Linked DNA regions of Homo sapiens: region 1 is linked to region 2. The links are contacts of gene promoters, found by promoter capture Hi-C in human tissues and cell types (Jung and others, 2019). All regions are on one chromosome and are shown on one strand. The core of a region is centred on a gene start or on the middle of the fragment in contact, and the rest is flanking DNA. Distances in the headings are between cores, read along the strand shown. Region 1 overlaps PTPRT (protein tyrosine phosphatase receptor type T). Region 2 holds the start of TOP1 (DNA topoisomerase I).

Evidence for each region. The method cuts DNA at HindIII sites, captures the fragments that hold promoters and counts their contacts. A contact is called where the count stands out against the background at its distance.
Region 1: a fragment that was not itself captured here is called in contact with the fragment with the promoter of TOP1 in region 2 in 1 of the 25 tissues and cell types used here (lymphoblastoid cells).

Annotation. Positions count from the first base shown.
Region 1 is chr20:42,389,158-42,396,118 of GRCh38, forward strand. The region is part of intron 9 of PTPRT (protein tyrosine phosphatase receptor type T); the gene reads right to left. Among named protein-coding and RNA genes, the nearest start is that of PTPRT-AS1, 580 kb to the right of the region's middle. The HindIII fragment of the contact is 6,662 bases long and covers 1,826-6,961 here.
Region 2 is chr20:41,024,785-41,031,669 of GRCh38, forward strand. It overlaps TOP1 (DNA topoisomerase I), which reads left to right and starts at 4,038. Exons shown (of 21, transcript NM_003286.4): 1 at 4,038-4,316; 2 at 4,647-4,671. The coding sequence starts at 4,284. It overlaps LOC100128988 (a long non-coding RNA gene), which reads left to right. Exons shown (of 3, transcript NR_145525.1): 3 at 1-612. RefSeq lists silencers at 3,737-4,088, 4,309-4,378. The HindIII fragment of the contact is 11,082 bases long and covers 1-6,885 here.

The DNA of each region.
Region 1 (6,961 bases), core at 3,907-6,406, 1.4 Mb after region 2:
GGAGATATATCTAATGTAAATGACGAGTTAATGGGTGCAGCACACCAACATGGCACGTGTATACATATGTAACTAACCTGCACGTTGTGCACATGTATCCTAGAACTTAAAGTATAAAAAAAAAAAGAAACGTGATATAGGGTCTTATCTGATTCTCAAGGTAAATTAGGTCCTCCACGATTTATGTTTTCACAGCAAACTAAATTCTTCTTTCACAGCACACATCACATGTTGAGAGACATGTTATTTGTATGATTACTGCTATGGTTTGAATGTGTTCCCCCAAAACCATATATTGGAAACTTATTACCCTTGCAGCAGTGTTGGGAGGTGGGGCCTAATGGGAGGTGTTTAGGTCATGAGGTGTCTATCCTTTTGAATGGATTAATGTTGATTATAAAAGCACTTGAGGCAAGGCATGGTGTCTCAGGCCTCTAATCCCAGAACTTTGGGAGGACAAGGCGAGAGACTTCTTGCTTGAGTCTAGGAGTTTGAGACCAGCCTGGGCAACACAATGAGACCCTGTCACCACAAAAAAATTAAGAAATACAGCTGGGCATGGTGGTACATGCTTGTAGTCCCAGCTACTCCAGAGGTTAAGGCAGGAGGATTGCTTGAGCCCAGGATGCTGAGGCTGAAGTGAGCCATGATTACACCACTGCATTCCAGCCTGGGAAACAGAGCAAAACCCTGTCAAAAAAAAAAAAAAAAAGAAAGAAAGCCTTGAGGCTGCCAGTTTAACTCTTCTCTCTGTCTCTCTCTCTCTTCCTTTGCCCTTCTACCATAAGATGACACAGCAAGAAGGCGCTAAACTGTGACCTAATAAATTTCTCTTCATTATAAATTAGTCAGTCTGTGGTATTCGGTTATATCAGCACAGTATGGACTTATACAGCCATCTAATAGCTTTCTTCCCTATGCAACGGACTCTAGGAGGGTGAGGAACAGCATTCAATTTTCTCCCAATTGTATCCTCAGCAGCTAGTATAATACTTGGCACATATTAGGTGAAACCCTGTCACTACAAAAAATTAAAAAGTTCTGGGCATGTAATCAGTAAAGACTTGTGAATGAATCAACACGTAGTAAAAGAGAGAATGCAATCAGTCAATACATTATGCTTATGAAATTACATCTCTACTTCAGTTGAAAAAATTGATGAAAAATATAAATTGATTGATTAATTGATTAAGGAAAGTATAAACCAGGAATCATTTGTCACCATGGTGCTGCAGACCCACACAGTACTAACATTAACCAAAGTAAATGCCAGCTTCCATTAACCAACGTAAATGTCAGTGGTAGTCAGCTCCCAAGATGGTCCCCAACCATCCCTACCTCCTGTTATTCACATCCAGATGTAGTACTCTGCTACTTCCAAGGCTAGTTCATGAAATGTATTATAATTTCTTTCCCTTTTCTCTTGGCTCACTTACTCTAGTGAAAGCCATGTGCCATGTCATAACATACTGAGGCCTCTGACAATAGCTGTGTGAGTACACCATATTGGAAGTGGATCCCCCAGTCCCAGTCCAACCTTCAGATGACTGTAGCCCCAGCTGACATCTCAACTGCAACTTTAAGAGAGACCCTGGGCCAGAACCATAAGCTAAGTCACTCTAAGATTCCTGACTCTCACAAACTGTTTAAGATAATAAATATCTGTTAAGTGGTAGGAAATTTAAATTTAACCAAAGAACAGGAACTTTCTTGAGTACCGACCGAGAGGCTGGCAGGTAGGACTAAGAAATTAGGTTATGGAGTCAGAATTGAGTTTGCAACCTTATTTTATTTAGGTTTACTCCGATGTTATAACTGACCCTGACCAAGTTACTTAGGTCTTTTCATTGCTTTTAAAATCAGAATAATATCTACTTTTAAGGGCCACAATTAAACACAAATTGAGTAATATGTAGTGGGGTGAGTTATTAATGAATTAAGAGGTATTTGAGAATTTTTTAGAGGAAAGAGGGAGGAGCGTGGCTAGGAACTCTTTAAAATGAGAATTAAAAAGCAAATGTCCTTTTCATTGTGAGTTCTGGGCTTGCTTGTCCAGGTAGGAATTAAGAGTTCACTTTTCAGATCCCTCGACTACACCTCACAGGAAAGGAGGAGGAGACTTTTGTGCTTCAGCAGCAAGAGAAGAGGGGCATGGCTTGATTCTGAACACAAGTGTAGAAGTCTGAAAAGCTGGAGGAGGATTACCTGAGTTGCAAGAACCCAGACATGGTCCCCTGATGTCACAATCTGAACACATAACATGGCAGCCTCAGGAACTGGAGCCATAGCCAATGTCCTGGCGGCCAAACTTAGTGTGTGGGGCACGGACACTACCAGCAAAGGTTCCAGGGCACCTCAGGCCTGGACGACTCCCATCACAGAGGCAACCTGGAGGGACCAAAGACCAGCGATTCTTCTTGGACTTCCTGTAGTGATAGGGTACGCCACAGTTTTTTGTTTGTTCGTTTGTTTTTAAAGCCTAAAGAGCGGGAGGAAGGGAATGCAACAATGATAGAGCTTGGATGAGCCACTAGCCACAATGGTGAAAGACAAGATGTTTTATTAAATTCATCAAAATAGAAGAAACCTGATTATGTCTTGCCCCTGGTGTCATCCAGCAAGTCCTACATACTGAAAACAGATGTAAATGCTCTGTCCTATAACTAAATGCTATTGGATTTCCTTTTCTTTCAGATGCCGAGCATAAGCAAGTTAATCATTGATGATACTGTCTAGGTTCTCCCCAACAGAAGAGCTTCTAATGTCGGATGCCCTACAGGAGTCAACAACATTGCCACGGGCTCTATTTTCCTCCCTGCCATGATGGGCAATGGCCAGAGAGGGGTGCACTGTCCTTGCCACCACACTGTACTGCTGCACCCACCTGCCCCAAGCCCTCCCTTGTTCTATCCCACTGTTATACCTGATGCCAACTCCCTACCTCACAGTTAATTTGTCTCCTACAAGCCTGTGTTTTCCCTCATGTCTTGCTTCTATTTCAGCTAATTCCAGGAAAAAATGTTACTTAAACTCACTCAGTTCTAACACATATGAACATTTCCTGCCCTACCTTTTCTCAGACCTTGCATGAAATGTCTTTGTTTCCTCCCTCTATTCTGTAAGTCAACTAAGAACCTGAAAGGTAAGAGGGCTATTAGCATACATCAGGAAAAATGGGAAAAAAGTAAAATAATAGGTTTTGATAAGAAAATAGAGGCTGACATTTTCCTCTACTGAAGGGCGTTTGCTTTACTAATCTTTCTTTTGGTATTTCTCAAAAAAAAAAATCCATTTCATTTTTCTTACCTTAACCCACATATTTATCTTTCTTTTTAAAAAAATAACTGCCATTTTGCAATGACCTACAGTTCACTTGGCTTGGCATAGGAAGAAGTGAGGAGCTACAGAGTCAGGCAGAACTAGCTTTGGTTCCTAGAAAAGATTGCAACATAATCACAGCTGCTTAGTTCTACCCCTATCTTCAGAGATTTATGGCTTCACAGTATAAGGATTGGAAAAGCCTGCCCGGGCCCTGAAAACTCAGAGGGAGTATCATCCATATGCAAGAAACTTTGAACAGCTTTCAGAAGGTGGAATTCACATGGAAAAGGACAGAAAAGGGCATGGGTGGTGCAGGGAAGAAAAGATTTCTTTCCTCATCGGTTGCTAGGTTCATGGCTGAGGCACCTAAAACAAAAGACAGATTAACAAGAGAAAAGCATACGCATCTATTTAATACATGTTTTACACAACAAGGAAGTCTTCAGAAAAGAAGGCCCAAAGAAAGAGGAAAATCTGATTTTTTTTAATGCTTACATTTGATGAAGAGTGGACAGTTGTGCCAAAATATAATTGGAAAAAGTGGGGATTGTCTAATGGTGATAAACTGAAGGGAATTTAGCAAGATCTATTTTGTAACGATTCTTCTCCATCCCCCTGTGTCTTCAGAGATAAGGACGTTCCTCTCCTCTGGGAATAGGAAGGGCACCTCTGGAATAAGGGTCTTAGGACTTTCTTCAGGGGAGAAGGCTGGGGGAAGGTGAGATATCCTCCTACTTCTGCTGTCTACCCAAATGCCAAGGTGCCATATTTGGGGGTAGCATGTTCTGAACCCCATCGATTGTGAAGTCAGTAAATCCATCTTCATTGTAACCCTTTTTAAAATATGCATGTATATTAGGGAATAATTTGAACATAACACAAATGTTTGATTATGCCTCATTTCACAGGAGAGAAAAGCAGGTGACTGGAGAAAACTGCACTCAGATGAACCAACCACGAAGGAATACACAAAATGTATGCACTCATACACCTCAAACATCTGCTTCCCCACTCAGATTACAGTGTGTGTCAGCCACATCTGGGGTTCCAACTTTCCCTCCCATTTCAGACGATCTTCCATACACCATTTCTCAATAACACACAAGTTGGAATCTGATGCCCACTTACACACAGACTGCATCTCTTTCAAAGTAAAGTACCATATTTATTGTAGTATTTATGTATTCCTTAGCTATTTAACATGTCTAAAACTGAGCTAAGATTTTTCCTAGGTTCCTATTGTTTGGGTCACTGATAAAGTTTTTAAATATTGTATCCTAACTTCATTCTTCCTATAAGCCCTGTAATTTTTAGTGTGCAATTTTACATATCGTGGCGATATTTAGGAATGTATAGGTCACATGACATCAGAACTGACTGTATTCGCAAGCGTTGGGTGAGTAAAGAGGGTAGATATCAACAGAATTGCATGGAAGAGTCAGGGAAGACTACGGCTTCCTATATTCCCGAATACAACCTGCAAGATGCCCAGTAAGGCAGGATTGTCCAAAACAAATAAGGAGGAAGGTAAAAATGCACAAAGTCTATGAAGATGTGACAGGTCTTTTTTTTTTTTTTTTAATTTTACTACTTGATGGATATGCCTTCAAAAATGGTGAAAATGTGTATCTTCCTTAGCAGAAGACACACTTGTCTATGTAATATCCATCTCTCTCCCCGGCCCTCTTCTTCACTTCTGGCAAACACTGATTTGCGTGGTATTTACTCTTTAATGTGGCTATGCATTCATCAAAGGAGATCCCCCTTTATCCCATCTCAAGGTTTATTCCACCTCGAGAATAAATATTGAAGAATCTCAGTCAATCATGATAACTATTTTCTTCACCAGTGATCGGTTAACCTATGGGCATGGGACCTCATTCTTGCCAATGAAACGTGAGCAGAAATTTACATTGTGCATCTGGGAATATTTGCTTAAGAGATTCTTAGGAAGGGATGTCCCCAGGTCCACAGGAAATGTCTGAGGGCATGGCAGCTATCTTCTGACCAAGAGGACGGCCAGCCTAAAGACAAAGCCCACACACTGGGGTTGACAGAGCAGAAAAACCTGAGTCAATCATGATGTTTTTAAAATAATGAATTAAGCAATTCCGCAGCTTAGGATATGATTGGATACCTTGTTATATGATGTGACACATTTTCCATATGGTATAAGTCATTTTGAGTTGGCTTTGTTACTTAGAGCTGATTATTTTACTATTTGTTTAGCAATACTACTTTCAGAAGAATCAAAACTATGAGCAAAGAGTGACATAAAGGGGAATTCATTGAATCATTATTTGTTCAGTGCAATAATGAACAACTAGAAAAAACTAAATACCCAAGATGAGGGAGCTGGCTAAATAGATTGAGCCCATTTTACAGAATCCTCTGAAACCATTAAAATGAAGGTGATATAAATGTAATATACATTGATATTGAGAAATGTTCAAAATGTTCTTGCCCCTCTTGCTCATTTAAGTCATTTGTCACAGTATTAACTCTGCTGAAGCCCATATTTTCTGCCTACTCCGAGTCTGCTGGACAAGTGTGAGGAAAGCAGTGACCCATGCTAACTGGTCTCGTTGTAACTCCTGTCTGCTAACCTCAAGTGCTCCCTTGGTATTTCCTGGTGATCCTTTACATTTCCCCATTTCAGTCTCATTTTCAGACTCCCACACTGTTTCCTACTTTATGGAGTCTCTTCAAACCTCCAACACCTCCACGCTCTCCTCACTCTTAGCTGATAACCCTGCTTCCTGTTTCATAGAGAAAATGGAAGTTCCATGGTGAGAACACGGCACATGTCAGCTTAACTGACCCATCCCCATACATTCTGTCTTCCCTCCTTTTTCTACAGCAGAAGGACCTATGCCGCATCTAAGACCAACTCTTCTATGTGTGAGTGAGACCCCCTGTGCTCTCATTTACCAAACGTCATCCCAAGAGCAGTGTCCATCCTCTTTGGGGCTTTTTCCCTTTCCATTGGATCATTTCCCTTTAGTTCTAATATTTCTCAAATTTTATAAAATACCAACAACTCCCCACCTTTTGATCAGAGAACATCTTCAGGTACTGTCTCCTGTCTCTGCCTTCTTTGTATCTTTCTATACAATTCCTCTCCTGCTGCTCTCCCTTGGGCCTGTGTAATCAGATTTCAGTACCCACAATTCTTTATAAATTGCTAATGTTAACTCACCAATGACCTCTCTGTTGCTGCATCTAATGGTCAATTCTCAGTCCTTATTTTACCTGAACTACCAACAGCATTTGACACAGTGGATCACCTTCTCCTTTTGTTCTTTTTTTATTACTTGGCTTCCTGGACCCTGCCCTCATTTTTCTTCTTACTTCATTGGCTGATACTTCTGTCTCATTTGATGATTCTGCCTCAAATTTTCCACCTTAAAAATCCAAGGGTCCCAAAGCTTAGCACTAGAATCTCCCTATTCTACCTACACTGAGACCCTTTCACCTCCTCCAGCTTTACGTCTGCAAAGCTCGTGCATAGGCTGACTCCCCTGCTAACATCTCCGTCCTCTACTTCTCCCCTGAACTCCAGACTGGCATATCTGTCTACTTGATATCTCACCCAAAATATCCAACAGGAATCCATCTGAAACTTAACAGATGCCAAACC
Region 2 (6,885 bases), core at 2,788-5,287:
TTTTCACCATGTTGACCAGGCTGGTCTCGAACTCCTGACCTCAGGTGATCCACCCCCGCCCTCGGCCTCCCAAAGTGCTGGCACTACAGGCATGAGCCACCGCTCCTGGCCGGGTTTGCCTACATTTTGGAGATGCTGCACACCATGTCCCTCTTTTCAAGAGTCACGTAAGTATTTACATATGGAAGACCCTGAGAAGGCACCTGGGAAAAAACCTGTTTAACTGTAAATATAATAATGTATGTATTTGTATGTGGAGCTCTTCTTTTAGTGGATTATCTATAAACCGTCCACTGTTCCCAATGCATACTTTGGAGACAGACCTACACTACCAGTTTTCACCTGCTAGTTATTTTTATAAGGGTTGGGATGGTCCATGAGTGAACAGTCTTGATTTAAAGCAGTGTTTCCCAAACCTCATTTATTTGCCTATAGCCTTCCTGGAGTTTGTCTTATATGTCCGCTCTGTGCACTATTCCTATATGTTTTTATGTAAATCAATCACTTTTTTAAAAAGCCTCATCCCAGTTATATCCTTAAAACAATGGTTATTTTTTCTCATACACATCGAAATACATATCTATTAGAATTAAAATGCTTGTCCATGCACTATCAATAATCTCCTCAAGTACCATATGGTGGGGACATGTGTTTGAAGTGTTAGGAGTCAGGAGTGGTCTCTGTAAGACAGAGTAAGTCAGTCAACCTCTGAGCACTGCCAGCCACACATGCTGGCAGAGAAGTTCAGCCTGTGACAAGACTGCCCGGATATTTCCATGTCTGTGCACGGGGATGTCCTCGGTCTGCCATTGTGAAGTCTGTGCTGTTTTCATGCCTACCTAGTCTTCTTTGGAGGGGCCTGGAAAGCAAATGCAGGCTGGGTACAGTGGCTCATGCCTGTAATCCCAGCACTTTGGGAGGCAAAGGTGGGCAGATCACGAGGTCAGGAGTTTGAGACCAGCCTGACCAACATAGTGAAACCTTGTCTCTACTAAAATTGCAAAAATTAGCTGGGTGTGGTGGTACGTGGCTGTAATCCCAGCTACCCGGGAGGCTGAGGCAGGATAATTGCTTGAACCCAGGAGGCGGAGGTTGCAGTAAGCCCAGATGGCACCACTGCACTCCAGCCTGGGTGACAGAGACTCCATCTCAAAAAAAAAAAAAAAAAGAAAAAAAAGCAAATGCAGATTCTCCCTGGGAAACGGGGGGTTGGGAGAGTGGAGTAGTGTGGATGCATTGTTATTCCTGAAGGCCGTCCTCAAATTATCTTGGACTCACTGCAGCAAGCAGATGCCTCATCTTCTGGCCAGGGATTGATCCTGAGATGGGAAGAGTATGAGAAGAGACACCAACAGCAAGGCAAAACTGGCTCTGGCAGCTTGCTTCAGAGAAAGAGTATAGCTTTGGAGTCAGGCCGACCTGAGTATGAATCCAAGACTCAGCACTTACTAGGTGCCTGCCCTCAAACCATTATTTTTTGATAGTCATTACATACCCACAATGATCACCATGGAGTGGATGAGGAAACAGGGACTCAGAGAAGTTAAACAACTTGCCTGATATCACACAGGTAACAAACAGCAGAGCAGAATTCAAACCTAAGTTGATTTGACTTCCAAATGTGTGCTCCTAACCAAAGCAGGGTAACCTGCTTTGATTTGCCCATTTCTTGAGCACCTCTTCTGTAGGAGGGCCTGTTGCTGGGTGCTGGGAATTCAGTGGTAGGCAAGATGGACAAGATTCCCCCCTCTCACAGACCTTGCTTGCTATAGGGGAAATAGACAGGAAACCAATTACTACATTTGTAACTTAATAACAAGTGTCATAAGTGTTACAAAGGAGATAGATACTATAAGGCACCTTTTATTTTTATTTGTTTATTTATTTTTTGAGACTCACTCGCTCTGTTGCCCAGGCTGGGGTACAGTGGTGCGGTCTCGGCTCACTGCAACCTCTGCCTCCCAGGTTCAAGCGATTCTCCTGCCTCAGCCTCCCGAGTAGCTGGGATTACAGGTGTGAACCACCACACTCTGCTAATTTTTGTATTTTTAGTAGAGACAGGGTTTCACCATGTTGGCCAGGCTGTTGTTGAACTCCTGACCTCAAGTGATTGATCCACATTGACCTCCCAAAGTGCTGTGATTACAGGCGTTAGCCACCGCGCCTGGCCTATAAGGCACCCTTGGTCAGCCAGTGGAAGCAGGGTCAGTAGTGCGCCGGAGAGTCACTTTGAAAAAGTGATATTTAGGTTGATCTTGAAGCATTCACAAGATGTGGTAAACACATCTAATGGTAAACATGTGATGGTAAACATTAGATGTGATAAAGATACTGATGGTCCACTGGATGAACAGTTTTCATATTTACTTCCAAATGATTTCATAGATATTATTTCACAGATAACACTTAGGATGAAGGTAAATAAAAAGGAGATCAATTAAAATATGAAATAATAATAGTGAAAGTGGTAATAGATGTGGCAATATCCACAAAGGAGTAATGGTTAGATTAGCATATTGAGAAGATCACTTTGGCAATTGTTGGAATGCAGTTTACGAGAGGGCCAAGAATGGAAGCAGCAATCCCTGTTAGAAGTGTAGTGTTTTGGAGTGCGGTGTTTTTTGTTGGTTTGTTTTTTGTTTTTTTTAAACCAGGTCTCACTCTGTTGCCCAGGCTGGAGTGCAGTGCAGCCTCGACCTCCTCCTCGGGCTCAGGTGATCCTCCCACCTCAGCCTCCCGAGTAGCCGGGACTACAGGCACATGCCACCACACCCCGCCAGTTTTTGTATTTTTTTGTAGAGTCAGGGTTCTGCCATGTTGCCCAGGCTGGTCTTGAACTCCTGGGTTCAAGTGATCTGCCAGCCTCGGCCTCCCAAAGTGCTAAGATTACAAGTGTGAGACACCACCCCCAGCCAGCACATTGTATTAATCCAAGCAGGAGAACGCAGACTTCAAAGGCTTATGGGCAGCAGAGAGAAGTAGATGAAGCAAAGAGATGCAATCAGCGGGACTAGTGGGAAATGAGGGAAAGGAAGGTGTCAGGATGGGGCTTTTTCTAGCTGAGTGGAGTTCAGTTCATTCCCAGAGAAGCTTGAGAGGTATCCAACTATAGATGCAAGGTAGCTGGCTGTTGGTCCCTTGTCTTTAGGACAGTTTGACTTTTGTAATACAGGCGACCTCACAGAGCTATTGTGAGAATTCAGAGCTGGGCACAGAATAGATGCTCTATAAACGGTAGTTCTATTCCCCATTTGCCCCGTCCTCCCAGCATGCCAGGGATACAGGGGCGGATAGAGACAGGTTCAGTTCCCTTTGGTCTCTTGCATTCCCCCTTCCCTCAGCACAATTCCTGGGCTCATAGCGGATGCTCAATAAGTATTTGTAGAATGAACCAAAGAAATCAGACCCTTGGTGACCCAGGGCTACATGTACTCGGCGGAAAACTGGGGTTAAACCGGACCCTTGGTTGGTTGAAAAATTAAAATAATTTTTAAAAAGTGGGCGTGAAATAATCCAGAAGTTGGAGGGCCTGGACAAAGGCTGGGGAGGGGACTCCTCCCACCAGGCGGCCTCAGGGTCGGCTTAGCAAGAAAGGAGGCGCTGGGGAGACCTCTGGGGTCCCAGCTGCCAAGGTACTCGCCGCTCCAAGGAGATGCGGACGCCGGATACCAGCTCTGCCCAAGATTGCTGGGTCCCGCCGCGGCCTTTAAAGGCCCACCACGTGGCTGCGCGGCCAGCCCTGGTCCGGAGGCGGTGCCCGGGTGGCGCCTGCGCACTGCCTAGCAGAGGGGCTGGGGTTCCGAGAAAAAGCGTCTGGAGAGGAAGGGGAGGCTGCTTGGGGTGGGACGCCGTGGGAGGAGTCGGCTCCTTATGCAAATCACAGCGGAGCGCGCACGGTCCGGAGGCGGGGCTTGCGATGCAAAGACAGGTCCGTCTGGCGAACAGCGAGGGGGCGGGCCGCAACCCTCTGCCTCTTTCCGCGAGCGCTGACGTCGCCGACGTGTTGTTTAAAAGCGGCCGCGCAGGCGCAGTGAGCCCAAATGCGAACTTAGGCTGTTACACAACTGCTGGGGTCTGTTCTCGCCGCCCGCCCGGCAGTCAGGCAGCGTCGCCGCCGTGGTAGCAGCCTCAGCCGTTTCTGGAGTCTCGGGCCCACAGTCACCGCCGCTTACCTGCGCCTCCTCGAGCCTCCGGAGTCCCCGTCCGCCCGCACAGGCCGGTTCGCCGTCTGCGTCTCCCCCACGCCGCCTCGCCTGCCGCCGCGCTCGTCCCTCCGGGCCGACATGAGTGGGGACCACCTCCACAACGATTCCCAGGTACGGCCCGGCCTGACCCTGGCGGCCCCGGACCCCGGCCTGGCCGTCCCGCGACCCCCGGCGCAGGCCCCGACCCCAGCCCCGGCCCGGCAGCTTTGACAGGCCGGAGCCCCCGGTGAGGGGCCGCCTGCCGGAGTAGATCGGCTCGCTAGGCCGCGAGCGAGGGCCGCGAAGTTACAGTTCGAGGCAGGGATGGCTGCCCTCTGTGGCCACCCCCGGGTCCCCGTCCTCCCCGGGGGCGCAGGGTGAGCCAGACCCCGGCCGCGCGCGCTCGCCGCCGGAGGGGTTAAAGTGGCTGTTGTTTGATATTCTCTCCTTTTCTTTTTCCAGATCGAAGCGGATTTCCGATTGAATGGTGAGTGTGCCCCCTGCGCCGACTCCGGGGCCCCCCAGCCGCCGGCCGCCTCCCCCGCGCCCTGCCGGTGCCGGGCAGAGGACAGACATGGCGTCCCAGAGACTAAGTCCCGGCTCCTCGCTCACCGGCCCCATTGTTCCCATCGGGCCGCCTCTTGACCCCCTTTCCGGGGACCCCAGCTCCTCCAGATCCCGGCCCTCCCAAGAGGGGACAACGGAGACCCCGTGTCGTCCGCCACCGGGCCTCGGGCGGTCTTTCCGGGCCGGGATTCCTCCCGGGAAAGTCGCCTTGTCGACGGTCGGGACTTAGTCTCTGCGCCATTTTCTTTTTCTCTCTCCTCTCCTTTCTGTGCCTGTGTCTCTTTCTCTCCCTCCCTCGGCTCTTTCCTTGAGCTGCCCAGAATGAGCTTTCTGCAGAGCAAAGCCGTATAAATCACATACTTCACCAGAGAGGGAAGGCTGGGGGACTGAATTATTATTTTTTAAACTTTATTTTGGGGGTTATTCCCTTTATGCTTCATGTTTGTTTCCTTTTCTGCTTCCAGAATGAAAGATTTCCTTAAGCAACTGTTAATTTTTTTTTTGATAGGCTGTTTATGATAGGAATTATGGCTCTAAAACTAAAGCCACGCTTTGTGGAGTTCTTTATATTTCCAGGTTGTTTTTCCCAAGTTACGTTCTTTGCAAAGGTAGCAGTACCTCCCTAAAGAAAGTTTGCAAGTTCTCTGTGGGTCACCCAATGTAAATGTTGGATTTTTAAAAAATTATGTTAGTCACTGGAACTTTTCATTGTGGTCGAGGTTCCCAATGCAGTGTTTTTCTGGAAACGCAGTTTAGTGTACTTGTTGGAAGGAAAGATTGTTGAGCATCTCTTGTGGACCTGGTGTGTTGGCCTTTTCGTTTGGGTTGTAAGGAGGAAAAAAAGATTTTATTTATTGAAGCAAAGAGTGTCCAGTACCCACCCCTGCTTCCTGTTCATTCTTTTTCACGAGCCACTGTTTTTCAGGAATCAAGAACTGGCTTTTTTTTTTTTTCCCAATTCTTTATGTTTTTGAACCCTTTTCAGCCAAATCAAGGCATTTATTCTTACTGTATTTCCACTTCAGTTACCCAGGGAAGAGTCCTCCAATAAAAAGCTCATCCTTGCAGGCTTTCGAACAACCCTGTTGAAGGAGAAGTTACCTTCTGTAGTGTGCTGGGAATTCCCACTGATTTTGATGGTACATAATCCTGCTCAATTGAGTTTGGGTTCCGGGAACCTCTCCAATGGGAGAAGTTGATGAGTAGGTTTTCTAATGTTGTAATCAGCAGTCCATCATGTTAGCCTGCTCTACTGAGAGCAACCTTATGTTCAGAGTTTGAAGTGGGGCATCCAGCAGGAGATGGTACTCAGCCAGGAGAGAATCTGGTTTAAAGTATGGCATTTCTTGAGCACCAGATATGTGCCAACCACTGTGCTTGGTGCTAGAGCTGATCCTGTAACCATAACACTCCCTTGCTCTCAATTCAGTCTATTGGGGGAGACATAATTAGTTAATTATAAGGTAACTACTGGGGCATATGTGTACCCAAAATGCTTTGAAGTATAGGGGAGTTAATTTTGTCTGAGGGTGGGGAAATTTCTCAGAGGAGGTGACTTCTGAGCTGGGGGTTGTGGAAGACTGGGCGCAGAGAATTGTCAGGGGTTGGAGTGTTTCTTAAGTACGTTTAACCAACCTATCACGATTTTAAAAGAGGGAGGAGGTGAGGCCTGCAGTTTAGAAAGCCACAGTATAGACATGTTTCTTTGGGATACAGGAGCAAAGAAAGGATGTGCAGGTGAGGATGTAAGAAGTCCTTTTGACCTTGCTAGAGGAAGGTGGGATCTTTAATATGGAATGTGTTCTTTTGGCTGTCAGGCTGGGCTGAGTAGGTAATGTAAGTAATGAAACAAAGTTTAGCCCTTTCTTGTGAGAAAGTTAACTTACATGGTTCTCACCTAAGTCACGTGAATGATTGTGAGCTGGCTAGGTTATTGATCTTTACTGACATTTTTATAGAGGCTGAAGTAATCTGCGTATGTTGACTTTTAGAATGTGTTGGCTCACATTTAATAGCAATAATAGCTAATATTTATTGAATACTTACTGCCAGGCATGAATCTCAGCTCTTTCCATGGATCATCTAATTAAATGTAATCCTTGGAAGGACCCTTGTGAGTTAGGTCCTGTTATTT